Regions from separate parts of the Homo sapiens genome. Here region 2 is linked to region 1. Evidence: promoter capture Hi-C in 16 types of primary human blood cells and fetal thymus (Javierre and others, 2016). All regions are on one chromosome and are shown on one strand. The core of a region is centred on a gene start or on the middle of the fragment in contact, and the rest is flanking DNA. Distances in the headings are between cores, read along the strand shown.

What was found. Contacts are between HindIII fragments. The CHiCAGO score rates a contact against its expected background, and 5 or more counts as called.
Region 2: a fragment that was not itself captured here is called in contact with the fragment with the promoter of NEPRO-AS1 in region 1 in 3 of 17 cell types (non-activated CD4 T cells, activated CD4 T cells and total B cells); the score reaches 6.0 in non-activated CD4 T cells.

The regions. Positions count from the first base shown.
Region 1 is chr3:113,017,692-113,022,188 of GRCh38, forward strand. NEPRO-AS1 (NEPRO antisense RNA 1) reads left to right here and starts at 1,827. Exons shown (of 3, transcript NR_186663.1): 1 at 1,827-2,015. It overlaps RMP64 (ribonuclease MRP subunit p64), which reads right to left and starts at 1,980. Exons shown (of 9, transcript NM_015412.4): 1 at 1,851-1,980. The coding sequence starts at 1,956. RefSeq lists an enhancer at 1,429-1,498 and a silencer at 1,659-1,768. The HindIII fragment of the contact is 8,907 bases long and covers 817-4,497 here.
Region 2 is chr3:112,736,508-112,741,004 of GRCh38, forward strand. It overlaps LINC02042 (long intergenic non-protein coding RNA 2042), which reads right to left. Exons shown (of 5, transcript NR_110017.1): 3 at 3,187-4,497; 4 at 2,171-2,318; 5 at 1-189. It overlaps MIR9900 (microRNA 9900), which reads left to right and starts at 582; the gene lies at 582-674. The HindIII fragment of the contact is 7,250 bases long and covers 1-4,497 here.

The DNA.
Region 1 (4,497 bases), core at 577-3,076:
ATTTGTTTTAAAGGAATCAAAAACTAATGTAATCAGTCTCAACTGTAAGAACGTAAGGATTCTAAGTATAAGAGAAGTTGGAAAATGGTAACAGATGATATAAAGTCCAGGAAATCATTAAGAGAACATCTGTAAAACAAGAAGCTGTATCTTTGCATTGCATTTTATCATGGTTTAATAATCTTTCATATGAATACTTTGCTGTCAGTCATTTGGTGTACACTTACGCCTCATGTGTACACTTAACCCCCACCTTGAAGGTAGGGCACATGTCACAACATGTGTAATAACTCTCTAACTCCCCATGTCGCTATGCCCGAAAGCAAGACAGAATGAATAAATTCACAGTCTTCAAAATCAAGGCTTCTGTGTTTGGATATCACTTTATGAGAGACACAAACATATTCAGAAAAGAAAAACCACCACAGTAACTGGAAATCGTATTATTTGATGAACACCGGGTGCTCATCAGCAGATGCTTCCTAGTCTGAAAATCTGTAGAAGTCCCTAAGATGTAGTTCATGTGTTATTTATGGCTCTAAAGGCAGCACTAGCATTCTAAATGGAAGTAAAGGCTGGTTGCTACCTAACAAGAATTTTCTTACTGTCCCAACAACTACCTGAAGACAGAATGGGCTGCCTCGGGGATGGGTAGTGAGTTGGTGAATTTCCCAGGCCTAATAGGAGTTGTTAAAGAATTTTTGAATAGAGAAAGAGGGAAGATTAATCTGTAAAGTGTGTAGGAAGGATAGATGGGATAATCTGTAAAGTGTGTAGGATGGATATATGGGAAAGGGGATGTGATGATCTAAGTCAAGCTTGTCCAACCCGCCTTATTTTGTTGTTCTGTTCTGTTTTGTTTTAGGCTTTTTGCAGCTTAAAGCCATGGTTTTTAGTTTGTCTCTAGTGAAAAGAGGGATGAGGAAAGGGCTTTACCAGCCCAACCGGAAACAAAGAACCCATGACTGTATTCTCTCCCTTGGGCCCCGGAGCTACGTATTTAATATTCATAACAGCTTCCATTTGAGTGTTCATTTACCATGCCAGGCAGTGTTCCAAATGCTTTCTCTACATTATCAACTCTTTCATCCCCCCAAACAGCCCTATGAGGAAGGTGCTTTTATCTCCATTTGAAAGTGAGATCAGTGAGGCACAGAAAGGTTCAATGACTCCTTCAAGCTCCAGCAAAGGGTAGAGCTAGTATTCAAACCCAAACAACCTGGCTCCTGCGCCAGGCTCCTACCTACTATATGCCCTTCACCCTAACAAATACCACCCATTTAGGTGGCAAAACACCGTCGTTTACAGCGCACTGTCTCCTAAATTACATCATTAGATATTCCCAACGCCCCTGTGAGGAGTAGGAGGACTAACTCCATTTCACAGATAAGCAGATAGAGGTCCGAAAAGATTGCAGTTTGAGTCCCAGTGCTTAGGTGACGTCCACCGCTCCTCGGGTACAGGAAAAAGAAGGAAAGGGGAAATGGACGGAAGGGTAAACAAGACTCCGAAGACCCGGGTGAGCAAGGGTTCCCAGGCAGCACTGTTCCCCGGCACCAGCTGAGTCCACCTCTCTCCGCCCCCTCAGCGCACGGCTGAGCCTTGGTCTTTCATCTCTCCAGCCAAGCCCTGGGTTAGCACAGCTGGTTCAATGAAGGAATGCGAAGCCAGAGGCCCTACAAGCTACACCAGCAAAGTGCTGGGACCGCTCGACCCCTACGTGCCCCGCGCCCCTTCCCAGCGTCCCCCGGGCCGGGAAGTCCCGGTACCACCCCCGCCCACATGCGCCGGCTGGGCCTGGCGGCCTCCCCCGGAAACGTTCCCCCATCCTCGCCCGGCGCCTCACTCACCAAGGGCCGCGCCGGGGTTCTGCACTGTCACTGCGCTGCGGTTCCCCGCCTTAGGGATTCTCACACGGTTCCACGGCTCCAGGCCCGGCGGCACCGCAGCCATCATGCGAGGCGGGGGGACTTACGAAAGGCGGAGCTACGCGAGAGCACGTCCAGCGACCGGAGGTGGGGCGATGGGACCCAGTCCGGGCCGGAAGGGAGCAGGGGGTGGGGCTCGGGCGGGGCCAGGAGCCCGGCGGGAGGCTGCCTTCATCGAGTAAACGCGTGGGACTGGGAAGGACCCAGTCATCTGTATATTGGTTACCAACACGTGGCCGCGTAGAATCATGGGGGAAAAAAGGCCCCATCCCAATACTAACCAACAGAATCTCTGAGAATGCGATGAGGAATCTGCGTTTTGTTTAAACTTAGCGCAGGGGATTCGGAAGCACAACCAAGTTTGGAACTGTTAAATACTTCTAGGCATTTTACAAATATGGAAAATGAGGCCCAGAATTGAGTTGGTGCTTTTACCCCCAACTCTGCCTCAGACATTAGGGGAAAAAGGAAGAAATGAAATGAAGAGGTTTGTGCAAGGTGTGGAATTTGTAGCGAAGAAGCAGTGATTTGCTTTGAGTGGTAAAGGAAGGCTCCTTTATGTCTTGAACCACAGCAAAACCGAGATCACATCAAAGAAACTTGGAAGACACCTGTCAGTCATTCCCACTTTTGTCAGTCTCCAAGACAAGATCATATTCCAAGCTCTAGTGATCCTTACCTCATTAATATCTTTCTAATAATTCATTTATCCTCAGCCATGCTAATGCCCCCTTAAGTTCTTAACACTCCCACAGTAACGTATTAGAAAAACAGTGAGTTTTGGAAACAGACTGCCAAGGTTCTAGTTCTAGCTTTGCTGTTTACTAGCTCGGTGATCTCAGGAAATTTACTTACCTCCTCCTCCAGACCTTAGTATCCCTGTGGGTAAAATGAAGATGATAATAATAGTATCAATCTCACAGACTTGTAAAATGCCAAGGCACTCCTGGCATACAAACAATGAACATTTACCATAGTTAATATTGTTGATGTTATTACTACTATTTCATGCAAGCAGTCTTACTTTATTGAAACACTTTCCATGCTCTTTCTGTGCGCCTTTACACATCTACCTACTCTACCTGGGTCATCCTCGGAAACACAATCTCCTTTCCTCAGCTCTGGGGTCGTCACTTGGGGTAATTCTTCCTAAACACCCCGTCCTCACTCCATAACTTGATACAGAGGCCCCTTTAATGTGTTACCACAGTGCCCTATGTTGGCCTATGTATTAGTTTTCTATTGCTGCTGTAACCAATTACGACAAACCTAATGGCTTGAAATAAGTAGAAGTTATTTTACATTTCTGGAGGTCAGAAGTCCAAAATTAATTTCAATGGACTGAAGTTGGCAGGGCTGGTTCCTTCCGGAATCTCTAGGGAAGAATTCATTTCCTTTCCTTTTCCAGCTTCTAGAGGCTGCCTTCATTCCTTGGCTCATTTCACTATCCTCCACCTTCATTGTCAGCATGACATTTTTCAGTCTCCTCCTCTTCCTCTGTCTCTCTCACCCTCCTGCCTGCCTCCCTCTTAAAAACACCCTTGTGATTACATTGAGCCCATCAAGATAATCAGGATAGTCACTCCATCTCAGAATCTTTAACTTAATCACATCTGTTTTAGAACTCCAAATTCAGGCTCATGTACCCGATGGGCAGCTGATGCCAAATATTGAGATACTGGTGCTTGGAGACAGAGAAATATTTATTCGATTTGACCAAAGTTAGAGGGCAAGAGAGCAAGATCTCTCAGATCCACAGTAACAAAAAAGAAGCAGGGAGTTTTTATGGAGCTAGAGAGTAATGGAGAGGGAGTTTCAAGGAATCCAAGGGAAAAGTCTGTGTTTCTTCCATTTCAGGTAACACCTTGTGCAGCCGTATGTACATGGCAGCTGGTTGCAATGTCCTTCCAGGAATTCATTCCTTCTGCAAACTATTCTTATGACCCTGAAGTTATCTCCTTCTGCTTGACAAAGAAACAGTACATCAGCAGTTTATAATTACATTGTGGGAACAAGGAATACTGGGCAAAAAGCGAGTGGTTAACATGTACAAGCAAGCAAGGGCCTGTTCAAAATTTTCATTATTTCATGCACACACACACACACACACACACACAAAAATGCTGGGGTGCTGAAATCTCAAGCAGCTGAAATCTCAAGGTTATATAGCTACAAAATCCCTTCTCAGTGCAAGGTAACATATTTACAGATTATGGAAATTAGCATGTGAACATCTTTGGGTGGGAGGTGGAGGGATCTTTATTCAGCCTACCACAGCCTCTCTCACAGAATTTACCTCGCTTTATTGTATTTCTTTGTTTACTTTCATGTCTATTTCTCCAATGGCATATGAACCTACTGAAAGCGAGAACTACCATTGACATAGCTAACTGGTCTTTCTATCTCAATGCTTAGTTCAGAGCCTGGCATATAGTAGGGCCTCAGTAGATATTTACTGGCTGTATATGAGGTTGGATGATGCTTGAATAGAGTCTTTTGAAGGATGAATAGGAACTCCCCAGGCAGTTAAAGGAAAAAGGATATTCCTACAGAGAGGTTTTAAGCAGCA
Region 2 (4,497 bases), core at 726-3,225, 280 kb before region 1:
GAGTTTTTAAGGATAACTTGGTTGGGTGGGGGGAAGCCAGTGAGCCAGGAGTGCTGGTTGACAGGGATGAAATCACAGGGAGTCGAAGCTGTCTCCTTGTGCTGAGTCAGTTCTTGGGTGGGTGCCACAAGATCAGATGAGCCGGTTTATTGATTTGGGTGGTGCCAGCTGATCCATCAAGTGCAGGGTCTGCAAAGTATCTCAAGCACTGATCTTAGGAGCAGTTTAGGGAGTCAGATTCTTATAGCCTCCAGCTGCATGACTCCTAAACCGTAATTTCTAACCTTCTGGCTAATATTGGTCTAGTCCCCAGGCAAGAAGGAGGTCTGCTTTGGGAAAGGGCTGTTACCATCTTTTTTTTTAAACTATAAACTAAATTTCTCTCAAAGTTAGTTCGTCCTACGCCCAGGAATGAAAAAGACAGCATGGAGGTTAGAAGCAAGATGGAGTCAGTTAAGTTAGATCTCTTTCGCTGTCTCAGTCATAATTTTGCAAAGGTAGTTTCAATCGTGCTGATTATTCTCACTGCCTACTTAAGTGTAGTATGAAAGGAACTATTCCTGGTAGAAGCTGATATCTCTATCTGAAAGGCAGGATGTGGCCTCTAAGAACCCGCTCTTACTTCTAAAAGGACAGGTCCTAAGAGACTGCATCAAGCCTTCAGCTCACAAAGAATTGCTGCTGGTACCATTCAAATTATTCATTCTAGAAAGCCCAAAAAAATATTTCTTAAACCTGCTAACTATAACCTTCCGTAATAGCAGCATAGACTACCAGAAGCCAAAAATATACATTTCATGTAAACAGCTTTGAGCTTTGTCAAGTGTTAAATACTGAACTGGTCATCGTACATGACTCAAAGTATCTAACTCAGGGGTGTTTTCTGCACACATTAGTCAATGCCATCTCCTGACAAAATATGACATGCCATTTGCGGCTCTACTAGGCATTCTAAATATCAGGAAAAAAGAAGAGAACTAAGGTATGAGATTGTTACACGCGGTTGTGAGTAACAGCAAGGGAAAAGCAATAGAACAGAGGTCTCTGGGCAGAAAGTTCCTACCAGAGAAATTCTGCTGGTTTGTTCTAATACCCAGGCACTGAGTTAGCTTCCAATGCAAAAGCACAAAATATTAGAAGGAATATTAATATAACCTCTCACTCTATAGAGGAGAAAGCAAAATCCTTCAACTACCTCTCAATTTTAGTTGAAGCATTTAGAGGAGTTTTCTGATGGATATACATAAAACCTGCTTTACACAAATTGGTTTTATGGTGTCCTTGGTTGGAGCATCTCTATTACATAAATCATGAAATGACTGCTTTTGGACAAAATTTCCCCTTTATATTTCTCTAGACTAGGGAACCTGATATAGAGTGTGAAGAACCTTTTTTCTTCTCCCATTCTCTTTTTTTGGGGGCTGATTTTTGGTTCATATTTGTAGGTTCAAGGACAACTCTGTAAAGAATTTTGAAAATTCAAACTTCAACCAATTTGAGGATATCCTAACCCAGTAGTGTTGAAAGTGTGTTCACAGACTACTGACAACTGTTTCTTATCAGTTCATGACAAGATTCATACCGAAATTGAGAATTGCATTTAGAATGCAATAATTTTAAATCCCTTAAAGCTAATGACAAAAAAAGAGGTGTTTATATTTTGTGTATTCATCCATGAGGAACTGGGAATTTAAAAGAACTAGCTGGTTTTTAATCCCAGATATTTTGAGAAGCATTGTTCTAACTTGTGGTCTTTTCAATTGCCCATGCCTTGCTTTTGATCCATAGTTGTATAATGATTGATTCTGACCTTCTGATTAGCAAAGCCCAGGGTAGAAAAATCAAGCACAAAGTCCAGTAAAAATAATTCATCACCTGGTACCAGTATAATATGGCTTGATTTTTGCCTTGAAAAGCACTATCACATATTAGCTCTTTTAAAGTTTTGCAACCATATGAGATAGGAAAGATATTACATGTATTTTATATGTGATTCAGCTGAGCTCAGAGAGAGTGTGCCCTGTCTGAGCTCCCACAGCTAAGCTGACAAACTGGAGAGGGTTAGGAAAGAGTTGAAAGGCTATTCACTGGATGACTGACCATGAAAAAATTGCTTAATTTCTCTGAGGTTTACTTTCCTTATTTGAAGCAAGCAGATAATAATAATTACCTGGCAGGTTGGATGCTTGATGAAAGGAACAAATGAGAAAATATGGTAAACATTTAAAAAATTGTTATTTGTCCTTATTAAGATCTGTTCACTTGCATTACAGGTAGAACAATAGTATCTCACAAAAGTAGGATAGTTTTCCCAGGGCCTGGAACACATACAAAAAAAGTGTCAGTAAATAGTAGCAGAATGAATGTCTAAATGAATGAGCATGGCTTTTTGTCTGTACTAAATTCTTTCTAATGTGCACAGAACTTGATTAAAAGGAATGTAATCTTGCAAATTCTATTCTCTACTGGTATATTACTTAGGATTTCATGGATTGTATTCAACTATATACACATTTTTGGATAGTTGACCCAGAGATTTTCAAACTCATTTTAATTAACGAACTCGTTTCTCCAAAGTTTTATGTACAGTTTCGTAGTTTAAAAACAAATATATATATATACACACACACACAGAGTATATACACATATATGCTATAGATGTGTGTATATACTATGTGAGGCATAGTATATATACAACCTCATAGTATATATGTATATATACCATGTATACATATAGATATATACATACACATATATGTATATATACACATATATATAATACATATTATTTATAGTATATACAAGGGATTATTTTTATTGGAGTTTGTGTCTGATTTTATACTTGATATTGTATCTGTGTGTGTGTGTTTGTATTTGGTGACAGAAACAGCATGATCTGGTTCCTGACTCACTCAGCCTCTCCCTGGCCCCAAAATAGCTCCTGAAATGCTTTTTCAAGCCCCTAGGGCTCCATGAAGCACAGTCTTAAAAACACTGTCTTTTTTATTAGTCGACAGCATGAACAAGTAACAGTAGAAACAAGTTTAACCAAAATGTCCAGAACTGACAAGAATTTATAGTAAGTTAGAAAAAATAAAGGCAAGCATACAGACTTTCAGAAACATAGATATCTCTCCTGAAAAATCTCCCAGAAGTGATAGCCATGAGTCAAATATTACATTTTACCTTTGAAAGTCCAAACTGTAGTGAGTTATCCATAACCTTCTGTGGTTCCACCCAATTTTGTGTTTTGCATGTTTTGAGAGAAATGCAGAATTTCCTGTAGGGTGCTGTGGTTTTCATTGCTTGGTTGATGTTGTGAACATCCAGGGCCAGCTTTCCTCAAGTTCAAAGACAGGAAAACACAAGACACCAATGAAGAAGTTACAAACCTCCCAATACTCTAGTGACCCTGACTTAGAAGGGCCAGGTAGCTGAAAACAGTGACCTGATCAGTCAGAGAAAGTAGAATGGGACCTCTTTAGCACTAATACTTGAAAGAACATGCTACAGCCTCATGTCATGTGCTAGACAAGACATTGGAGCTCCCAAAAAATTGCCTGGGTACAGCAGTCAGTGCAGCCCAGGAAGTTTGTGCAGTTGAGGACACTGAAAAGGTAGAGTGCCAAGGGGCCCATCCATAGGTCAAAGTGGGCACATGGTGAACTCTCAAGATGAGGAGCTTAGTTGTAGCTTTGCTGAGTTCATGGAGAAGACAGGACATGCAATTCACTTATTAAAGTGCCAAAAAGTTGAAAGAATCATGGCTTTGTGTCCTGACTTTCCTGGTCGCATTCTCTCATCTACATAGCAGATGGACTCCCCTCTGGGCTGACAACCTTAGTATGGTTTATATGGCTTGAATTAGTAAATGCTACTCCAAGGTATTGCCATTCCATTTGTCTTCACCCATAGATTTCTCTTTTTCTTTTTTTCTTTTTGAGACAGAGTATCACTCTGTCACTCAGGCTGGAGTGCAGTGGTGCCATCTCGGCTCACTGCAACATCTGCCTCCTGGGTTCAAGGGATTCTCCTGACTCAGCCTCCTGAATAGCTGGGATTACAGCCACCCACCACCACACCCAGCTGATTTTTGTATTTTTAGTAAAGATGGGGTTTTGCCATGTTGGCCAGGCTGGTCTCAAGCTCCTGACCTCAGGTGATCCACCCACCTTGGCCTCCCAGAGTGCTGGGATTACAGGCGTGAGCCACTGCGCCCAGCCTGATTTCTGTTTTTCTTTAATTGCAGAAGCTCTAATATGTAAGTTGGAGGATTCTTATTTCACTATAAATTTATCTTTTTGAGTCTTGCAAACAACAGAGGAGGTGGGTAGGAGAATAGGAAATACTTTAAAGAATCGGAGAGGACATCTCTTCAATCTGAGGTAGCAGCTATGTTTGATTTCATTTTTCCACTGCTCCGAATGATCTTCTCTTCAAATCATGTGACTTATGAGATAGTGACAGATAACACAGGAGTTCATGATTGCTGCATCA